Regions from separate parts of the Homo sapiens genome. Here all the other regions are linked to region 2. The links are contacts of gene promoters, found by promoter capture Hi-C in blood cells and fetal thymus (Javierre and others, 2016). All regions are on one chromosome and are shown on one strand. The core of a region is centred on a gene start or on the middle of the fragment in contact, and the rest is flanking DNA. Distances in the headings are between cores, read along the strand shown. Region 1 has its middle 40 kb from the start of FOS. Region 2 holds the start of FOS (Fos proto-oncogene, AP-1 transcription factor subunit). Region 3 has its middle 45 kb from the start of LINC01220.

Region 1 (3,436 bases), core at 371-2,870, 40 kb after region 2:
TGTCTTGTAGAACCCCAGGAAAGATTGCAGAGCATTCAAGCACTGCAGCAAGGGTGAGCAAAGATGGAGTAGAAAGGGACCTGATCCAGGTGTGGAGGAGTTAACACATCCTGCTTGAGTTGAGGCCTGAAAGAAGCTTTGGAATTTTTCAGGGGAAAAAAAGTGACAGGAAGGGCATTCTAGGCAGATGGAATGGTGCATGCTAACACACAGAGGATGGGAGAGTTCAGCACATTTAGCTTTAAGGTGCCAAGGACAGGATACCGTAGCTCATGCCCATAATCCCAGCAATTTGGGAGGGTGAGACGCATGGATCACTTGAGCCCAGGAGTTAAAGACCTGCCTGGGCAATATGGCAAAACCCCATCTCTACAAAAAAAAAAAAGTGGAAAAATTAGCCAGGCGTGGTGGCACATGCCTGTGGTCCCAGCTACTGGGGAAGCTAAAGTGGGAGGATGGGAGGATCCCTTGAACCCCGGAAGTCGAGGCTACAGTGAGTCGAGATCACGCACTGCATCCCAGCCTGGGTGACAGAGTGAGACATTGTATCCAAAAAAAAAAAAAAATGTGCCAAGGAGTGGAAGGAGGAGAGGGCTGGTGTGAAGGGTTGAGAGGATTGCAGTTTGAGCTGAGCCAGAGAAATAAGCAGGTCCCAGGTTGCAGAGGGCCTTGTCTACCTGGTAAAACATTTAGGTTTTCTCCAGAGAGAGAAATGAAGGGCCATGGAACAGGCTTACCCAGTGGGATCACAGGATTTGTGTTTTAGAAAGGACACAGACAGCATGATGGAGTGGCATTGGAAGGCAACAAGCAGACCACTAAAGAGCCAGAATGGTGAGCTCCTGCCCCCAGCCATGGTGGGGGGAGGACATGAGTAGCAAGATTCTGCCTAAATTAATTATTAATAAGCGACGCAGTGATTCATCTATACCTTCCCCATTCCTAGCTTCATTTCCCCATCCAGCCCCTAGGAGCCCTGACTTTGATTCTAGTCCGTTTCTGTTTCCTTCTTCCCTTAGCTGCCCTCTTCACTGGAATTCTCTAAGGTGCCTGTTCAGCCCTATGGAAACGGCTGCCAGATTCTTCTGTTTTCTTCATGGAAAGCTCCCAAGTTTTTCTCTCCAAAATCCCTTAGAAGTGCTTTGGCCAGTGGAAGAGAGGGGTCTTCAACGTCTTTCAAAGAACAGCTAAGAAATAGTGGCTCAGTGAAGTTGCTAGTTATGGGAACGCCACCTGCTGTGGGAGCTGCCAGTGACGGGAAGCCCAAATCAGCAAGATGAGCCCCAGCCGCAGGCCTCACATTCTGGCAGTCTCCACGAGCCAAGAGGTGTCCATGCCAAGTCCTCATTCCCATGGTGATGCCTTATGGGCTCCATCATGTTAGCCAGAATATACCCTGGGAGATTATACCTGGGAGACACGTAGCTCAACAAGTACGGAACATGTCTTCCCTGCTGGTATTGGGGGGACAGGATGAATATCTGTCTGATAAGCTCACTGAGATATGTTAGGCTTGTTCCCTGTGAATAATTTATATTTTGAGAAACCTAGTACTTTCAAATTCATACAATAATGAGCTGTGTTATATTAGGATTCTGTTGTATGTTCACCTATCAAAATTTATACCTTAAATACTCACACTCAATATGGGGAGATACAAAGATAATTTAGATATCATATATGATTAACTATAGAAAACACATATCTTTTTTTTTTTAAGAGACAGGGGTCTCACTATGTTGCCCAGGCTGGTGTCAAACTCCTGGGCTCATGCAATTCTCCTACCTCAGGTTCCCAACATGCTGGGATTACAGGTGTGGGTAACCATGCCTGGTCAGAAAACACATATCTTAACACAATACACGATAATCACAATAGCAGGAAACAAGTTTTGTTTTGTTTTGTTTTTTTAATCAGAAAGGCAACATTTCCAGGTGAAAATTTTCCTCAGTGATGTAGGAAATGCCATCTTCTGTCATCAGCCCATCTCTAAATTCTCACTCTCACATTTGTTCATGTAGCTGCTACTCCTAATTCCAGATGAAAAATTCCTGTCGTTCAAAGGCAGAGCCGTTTGTAATTTATGCAACCCCTGGGTTCCATCAAATGAAAAGAGTTACTGAAATAGAAGTTATTCTTATTGCCATGCCAACAGCAGACCCACAACCTCAGCTTACAAACACATTCTGTGCTAAAGCCCAAAGCACATACCCTCACGTGCCTCCATCAGAAAGATCTTTCCATTTCCTTCAAGAACAGACCTCCTTCACGTACAATATCCCTCCCAGTAGCATACGTAGGCCTCATTCCTCAGGGAGCTGGCAGGAACACACACACACACACACACACACACACACACACACACACACACTCCTCCAGCACACACCTCCTTTCTCATTTTCCAGAGACCCGGGGGTGTGTGTGTGTGAATGTCTGAACTGATGACATATTGTGACAGAGGACGCAAGACAGTGAGGCACAGCCTCAAAGCAATGCAGGTCACAGCAATAGGCTTTATATAACCCAGAGCCATGGAGAGACCCAAAATAGCAGCCTCCCTGCTGCTCAGTTAGTCTCCTCCATCAACCAGGGATAAAATTAGAGCAGGCGCTGACGTGCACCTGCGTCTGCACAGGGACTCCAGGGAGACAGTGAGAACAGGCTCGACACTCTGCCATCGGCCACGCAGACTGCCAGATTTTTCAGACCCAATCTGTTACCAGACAGAACTCTGTGTGTGTGTGTGTGTGTGTGTGTGTGTGTGTGGTACACACACGCACGGGTGTACATGTGAGCCATGTGGAGCCCTGCTCTGAGAACATTTCAAGGGAATGGCTGGGAAGTTTGGCGGCATGGGGCTTTGAGAAGAATGTTCCAGGTTTTTGGGGGAGGAAGTCAGTCCCCACACCAGTCCCCATTTTACTTCATAGTTCCTTCTCGCCGCCCTCCCTACCGCTTCTCTCTGGCCTGTGTGGGGTCAAGTTTGGCTGGGAAGTCCTTCCTCTAAGACCTCGTTCTGCAAAACAAACAACAAACTAAAACAAAATCCTGCTGTGTTTATTTCAATTCAACCAAACACACACAGTCTGGAGAGTAAAAGCTTGTGCCAAGAGGTCCAGAGGAGAGACAGGCTGGTGAATGTGGCCGACTGTTCTGCAGGCCCCGGGCCCCCACTTTGTCTGGAAGCCATGAACGCTGCTTACAGGTGGGATTGGCAGAAATCCTGTCCTGCCGAGGCAGCAGGTGATTTGTTCTTTTTCTGCTTGAGGGAAAACAGGGCAGAATGATTTTTTCCCCCAAAAGATGCACAGTTAAAGGTTAGTCATTTTGTACCAGATATGATACAAATTTCAAGGGAGGAAGCATGGCTGACCCCAGGAACCAGAGACCAGATAAATAGGTACAAACTAGATGGAATGAGACAAGATTGTGTTTT
Region 2 (3,261 bases), core at 317-2,816:
ATAAGATCCTCAGCAAGAGAACAAAGAAGAGCCCAGTCTGAAAGCATGCGGTAAGAAACTTAGGGAAGAAACTATGAGAGTACTTCTTAGGGTGAGACTCAGAGTCTGAGTTGGGATGGAATGGGCTTGGAGCCAGGGCTCCCAGTTACGGATGTGCAGCCAGCCCCATCAGTGGCTTCATCCTCTGTACTGGGCTCCTGCATCTCCGGGGCTGCTTCCCACCCAGCCCCCACATTCCCAGGAAGAGTACGCTAGAGTTCCTCACCTGTTCCACCTTGCCCCTCCTGCCAATGCTCTGCGCTCGGCCTCCTGTCATGGTCTTCACAACGCCAGCCCTGGAGTAAGCCCCAGCGGAGGGGGCGGGGACTCCGAAAGGGTGAGGGGCTCTGGTCTGCGATGGGGCCACGGAGGAGACGAGGGCGGGCTGCACCAGCCACTGCAGGTCCGGACTGGTCGAGATGGCAGTGACCGTGGGAATGAAGTTGGCACTGGAGACGGCCAGGTCCGTGCAGAAGTCCTAGAACAAAACAGAAGGGGAAAGCCGACGTGAGCGAGCAGGTTCCGGACACAGGTGGGGCGAGTTCCCAGTGCCGCATGCAGCAGTGAAGAGAAACGATCCTGCCACGGACATTTCATCTTAAATGTCCCTCATCCTGGATGAAAGGTCTCCCCCTTTTCCTCCCAGGCATTCCGCAGCGCAGTGCCTGTCTCTTCCATCCTGCCGCTGCGTTCCCGTTATCCCTTCAGCATCACTTGCTTGAAAGGGGGTTTGTTATAAATATCCCTGACGTCTGCGCTGACGCAGGCGCCGCTCCGGAGTCTCCAGAATGAACTCGCTTTTTATCAATGAAACTGCCTTACACACCCGCCCGCTGCACCCTCCTCCCTCATCCCTCCTCCGTGCTCCAGGCTGCCGGGGGAGGGGGGATTGCCGCTTTCTGCCACCTCCCCGGAGAAGCCAGGCTCTAGTTAGCGAGTTTGTGCTTGGGACACGTCTGCTCCAGCTAATGTCAGAGATCCGTCCTGGAGTGCAGACCAGAGGTTGCTCAGAACGAACCTGCCTCCCGAAGGGGGAACCAATTCTTACTATGGCAAGCGTGCGTGCGCTCAGAGCAAGTCCCGAGCCCCCGAGCCGGCACCGCTCCGGCCACGGCAGCCTCCCTCCAGGCACAAGGGAGCCCCCTACTCATCTACTGGAGCGTCCCGCCCGGTGTCTCCTCCTCCGCGACCCCAAGCCCCCGGCCCCGCGGCGACGGGAAGCCAGCCTTACCTGCGCGTTGACAGGCGAGCCCATGCTGGAGAAGGAGTCTGCGGGTGAGTGGTAGTAAGAGAGGCTATCCCCGGCCGGGGACGCGCTGCTGCAGCGGGAGGATGACGCCTCGTAGTCTGCGTTGAAGCCCGAGAACATCATCGTGGCGGTTAGGCAAAGCCGGGCGAGGGGCCGAGGGGCGGAGACAGGTGGGCGCTGTGGAGCAGAGCTGGGTAGGAGCACGGTCACTGCTCGTTCGCTGCGCCGCGGCCGCCGGCTCAGTCTTGGCTTCTCAGATGCTCGCTGCAGATGCGGTTGGAGTACGAGGCGCCGCAGCCACTGCTTTTATAACAAGCGTTTTATGAATGAGTGTAAACGTCACGGGCTCAACCACGGTGGCGCCAGAGGGGTGGCGCGCGGGCCTGGGCGCTTCTGCGGCCGCCCGGCTGCGTCCCCAGCGCTCGCAGCTCCCTGCCCCCGCCTTGGCGCGTGTCCTAATCTCGTGAGCATTTCGCAGTTCCTGTCTCAGAGGTCTCGTGGGCCCCCCAAGATGAGGGGTTTCGGGGATGGCTCCCCCCAGGGCTACAGGGAAAGGCCGTGGAAACCTGCTGACGCAGATGTCCTAATATGGACATCCTGTGTAAGGGGGGAGGGATTGACGGGAACTGCTCGCGGGCTGCAGCCAACACCGAGGGTGCAGTGCGGGGGGAGGCGGGGGCCGCGGCTGGGGGAGGGGAGGCGGGAACGGCGCAGAATGAGAGAGAACATTCGCACCTGGTTCAATGCGGACCCTTGTTCCCGAGGTCGGGGGGGATGGGGCAGAGAGCGCCTTTTTACCCTTGTACGGAAACTGAAGACAGTTCTGAGGCTCAGAGATAGGAGAAACGGCATCGAGTACAGGACCCCGAGGACTTAAGCCTCGGCTCCCGAAGGAATGCGCCCCTACCCCCATCCCCAATTCTAGCCCTAATTCAGTGCAAAGCGTGGAAGCAGACCTTCATCCCCTAACCTCCAGCCCTCGGGCTCGAGCAATACTAGCACTGTTCCTGCGTTTGGAAGCAGAAAGTGGAGGATCCAAAATAAGAGAATACGATAACCTACTTTACGATACTGGGTACTTTATTTATTTATTTTTTTAAAGAAGACAGCGCATTTATTTATTTATTTTTCTCGGCCATGTGTGGGAATATTAAGGAAACTGTCAAATCCCTGAGACACCAGCAGATAAACACTGTGCAAAACCTACGTGCGAAGACATTTGAAGGGGGTGTCTGCCCGGTTCTGAGCTGGGCCCCAGGGGTAGGGAGTGCGAGGTGTGGTTATGTGGGCAGGGTGGTCAGTTCGGGATGACAAGGCGGGGTGTGCTTCCTGCGGGGAACTCAAATCTGCGCTGAGGGCTGGTTCGGTCCCGCCAGGAAGCTGTGCTTACGGGAGCCCGCAGCGGGTGATTTTCCAGCGCGGACTTGGAGGGTGGAGGACGGGGGCTGGAAGGACAGTGTCCAGCTGCGCCTGGGCGGAATACCTCGACTGCTGGGACCCCAGGAGCGGCTCCACGTCCTGGAACACGGGGCTTTGGGGAGGCAAGGTGCTCCAGAGTGTGCCACGCCCCCCAATCTCCTGCCCTGCTGCGTAGGACAGCCGGGGTCACGCTGCCGGGGCTCAGCCCCAGCGCGCTGGCCACCTCCAGGGCGCGAAGACGCATGTCCCCGCACAGCCCCGGTCTTCCCTTCTCCACTCTTCGGGCCCGGGGGTCGGGGCCCGCGGTGGGCACCTGGAGAGGGGCGAGGCAGGATGAGGCCGGCGGGCGGATAGTTCGGGGCGCGCGGGGAGCCGGACCGCAGACCTGCCTCCAGCCGCCGCGCCCGGGAGCCAGGAGATCCTGCTATAGATAGTAACAGGGAAGCGGCTGTTTACAGCAACACAGCGCCGCCAGGGCCGTCTCCAGGCAACGCCGCGCGGCCGGGCGCGCCGTCGGCCTGGCGAGGCCACCCTCCCTCCCAGCTCCCCTGGGC
Region 3 (3,376 bases), core at 724-3,223, 60 kb before region 2:
AAAAAAGCTATTTCAAGTCCTGAAGTAATCACTCGGTTAGGTAGTGCGGTCTCTTCAGAAACTGCCTGGACAGTGGAGAAAGACCAGTCCTGAGGGAAGGTAAATGGAAGCCCGTGTCACTAGGGCAAAGGAGGACCCACTAGAAGAAGAATGGCAGGGGTTGTCATGTCAGTCCTCCATTTGTGATACATTTCTGGCCGGTCATGAAGAAATGGCATGGGGGAACAATACACATGACCCCCAAACCAAGACGCAGAGGTCTCTCCACATATCTGGGTAAGCAGGAATGAATGAGAACATCCTCACATTCATGGCCTCCTTGGGTTTTAAAAGTACATTGAGAAACAGGATGGTACCTAATGGCCCATGAAGGTCTCTCCTCGGCTGGCTGGCTTTCCCCATGTGCAACAAGAGATTTAGGAGATTCGTTTGTATATTTCCATCAAGAATTCTGGGAATCAGACCTGAAACTTACTATTTCCTTATCACTTGGGTAGACTGGGGAAAATAATGGTTATATTCAGAAAGCTCATGGACCCACACATACTGATCAGTCAATGGTTCCTTAACACTTAACTAGTGTTAAGGAAACAAGAGAAAGGGAGAAGACCTTTATCCTGAAAATATCACCTATGTCTTCAGGGCCAAGCCATTTACCTGGGCCTGCCTAGCATACTGTAGGTGTTCATCATGTACTTTTTGGGTGAGTGGGTTCGTGTTTATGTCTAGAATGTTTGCATCCTTCTACATTCTCAATTTCCTCAAGAACAGAAGCCATGTATCTGCTTGAGTCCCAGAGTAGTAGAAAGAATCCTGGGCCTGGATGTGCTTCTCATCAATCAGTTGAACATGTTCATCTTTATTTGCCTGATAAATTAAAAAATAGGAGAGAGGCAATCAAAGGCAGAACGGTGGCAAGTCTTACTACAAGTCTATAGGGCTCTTTGTTTACCTCTAGGAAACCCTGGCTTCATCCAAGCAATCTCTCTCCATTATTATGCAAAATCAAGAAAATAATAATAGTAACATTCCTGCCAGAAATTCCAGGGCAACGCTGTTTTAGGCATCTAGGTTGGAGATGGCAGATATTTGGCATGCTTGCAACTACCTGATATTCCGTGTTCCTGACAGACATCGTGAATCAATCATTCTAATCATCACTAATCACTAATCATCACTATTCTGCTGACCCTCAGAGTCTTTCTCAACATTGCATTCCAGGCAGCCACTACCAATCAACTAGAAATCACACATGCAAAGGATGTTATCTCTGCTGTAGTCCATGATGGCATGTGATACTTTCATATCCTAAACCAATCTGAAAATTCTCACAAATACTCTTGATAATAAGTATCACTGCAATTACAGAATTACAGATCTGAAAGAGACCTTAGAAATCATCAGCTTTAATCCAAAATGCAAGATGAGCCTGGAGCATCTCGTATGGCAGATAGGACACTGAAGTCCACAGAGGGTAACCAACTCGCCCTAATTCAGAGTGTTAGTTAATGTCATTAGCAGTCCCTTACATCTGTATAGTGCTTTAGAGATGACAGTGTACTTTTAACTGAAGGACCTCATATGATTCTTTATTCATTCATCCAATAAATATTTATTGAATTCCTACTGTGTTCTATGTACTATGCTGGAGGTTAGGAAACCAGCAGTTAGAAGGAAGAAAGAAAAGAAAAAAAAGCTTTGATTCCTGTCTTACAGTTAAGCAAGGAGCCTTAAAATAACTCCATGACCTGAACAGGATAGACACTACTATCCTCAGCTTTGCAGATGCTAGAGGGTGACAATTAAGAGAGGACATGACACGCTTAAAAACGGCAGCTCTGGAATTCACAACATCCCTCAAGTCGCCACTTTTAGATGAGATCATTACTGTTGCAACATGTGGGAAGCAAATTTCCAGACCCATCAGGCATTTCTTAATTAGCTCTCTGACCACTTCAGAATGCTTAAGGTATGAAAGAACCTCTCTATTTAGGGAATGATGGCAAATTCTCCCGGCCCTGTAGAAACAATTTCAAAGGGTCTTTCTCTCCAAACCTGCAACCCCTTGACCTTGTAGCCCATGCAGTGTGGTGGGAAGAGCACAGATATGGGAGCACAGAGTTCTGAATCCTATTCCCACCCATGGCTCTAACCAACTAGTTCATCTTGGACAAGGTACATCACCTCTCTAGGCTTCAGTTTCCCCATCCATAAGGAAAGTGAGTTGAACCATGAGATCTCTAAGCTTCCTTCCCACTGACATCTGACAATTCTGCCTGACCAAAAAAGACAGAGCTTCCCAGCCGTACTTCACCTTCTCCTTTCACCAGACATTCTCTGCAACAGCTGGCTTTGCAGCCCAGACCCACCAAGAAAACAGCAACTCTAGGAAAGGTGGTATGGTCCAGCAAAGCCCAAAGTAGTTCTAATCATGATCCAGCTGATCATGTGACCTGAGACAACCAGTTCAACCTTCATATGTCATGGTTTCTTCTTCCCCCATCCAACAATGATATGATAAAAGAAACCAGATGTAGAAATGCTTTGGAAATATTAAGATGTGCCCATCAAGAAGGAAAAAAAAGAAGCTGACCTAAGTAACTTTGGAAAATGATGGGGTTTTTTTCTTTTTTATTTCACTGTCACAAACTTCACACACAATGGAAAATGATGTGTTTGACTGGAATCTGTAAAGCTAAAAAAATACTGTGCAAAAAGAACTCTGCAAAAACACTATACTCTAGTTGATAAATTTACTTTTCATAGGGAACTACATTGGTGATTCTGAAACTACTTCACATGTATACTAGGGTTGAACAAATATGTAAATAAATTATAGATAATGGGAGTCAGGTTTCTCACCATCAGAGAAAAAAGCAGCAGTGAGAAAAGGGAGAAGGTTAGAATGAAACCTGCAGGGTTGGATTCAAGTCAGAGATAATACAAATTCTTTCTTTTTTTTTCTTTTTTTGGGGACAGAGTTTCACTCTTGTTGCCCAGGCTACTGTGCAATGGCACGATCTTGGCTCACTGCAACTTCTGCCTCCTGGGTTCAAGTGATTCTCCTCCCCAGCCTCCCAAGTAGCTGGGACTACAGGCATGCACCACCACACTCAGCTAATTTTTTTATGTTTTTAGTAGAGACGGGGTTTCACCATGTTGATCAGGTCGGTCTCAAACTCCTGACACAGGTGATCCACCCACCTTGGCCTCCCAAAGCGCTGGGATTGCAGGTGTGAGCCACTGCGCCTGGCACAAACTCTTTTTAAAAGTATATATACAAATAGACAGATACACAAACATAGATATGCACATATTCATGGGTTAGCATACATACATATATACATAAATATATGTAAATATTCCTAACTGTTCA

What was found. The method cuts DNA at HindIII sites, captures the fragments that hold promoters and counts their contacts. A CHiCAGO score of 5 or more calls a contact.
Region 1: a fragment that was not itself captured here is called in contact with the fragment with the promoter of FOS in region 2 in 6 of 17 cell types (monocytes, total CD8 T cells, naive CD8 T cells and 3 more); the score reaches 8.7 in monocytes.
Region 3: a fragment that was not itself captured here is called in contact with the fragment with the promoter of FOS in region 2 in 1 of 17 cell types (monocytes); the score reaches 6.0 in monocytes.

What each region holds. Positions count from the first base shown.
Region 1 is chr14:75,236,773-75,240,208 of GRCh38, reverse strand. No RefSeq gene overlaps it. Among named protein-coding and RNA genes, the nearest start is that of FOS, 40 kb to the left of the region's middle. RefSeq lists an enhancer at 1,859-3,436. The HindIII fragment of the contact is 2,964 bases long and covers 139-3,102 here.
Region 2 is chr14:75,277,133-75,280,393 of GRCh38, reverse strand. FOS (Fos proto-oncogene, AP-1 transcription factor subunit) reads right to left here and starts at 1,566. Exons shown (of 4, transcript NM_005252.4): 1 at 1,271-1,566; 2 at 266-517. The coding sequence starts at 1,411. RefSeq lists enhancers at 1-648, 1,235-1,294, 649-1,576 and silencers at 1,665-1,724, 2,075-2,164, 2,893-3,261. The HindIII fragment of the contact is 6,704 bases long and covers 1-3,261 here.
Region 3 is chr14:75,337,731-75,341,106 of GRCh38, reverse strand. No RefSeq gene overlaps it. Among named protein-coding and RNA genes, the nearest start is that of LINC01220, 45 kb to the right of the region's middle. The HindIII fragment of the contact is 549 bases long and covers 1,699-2,247 here.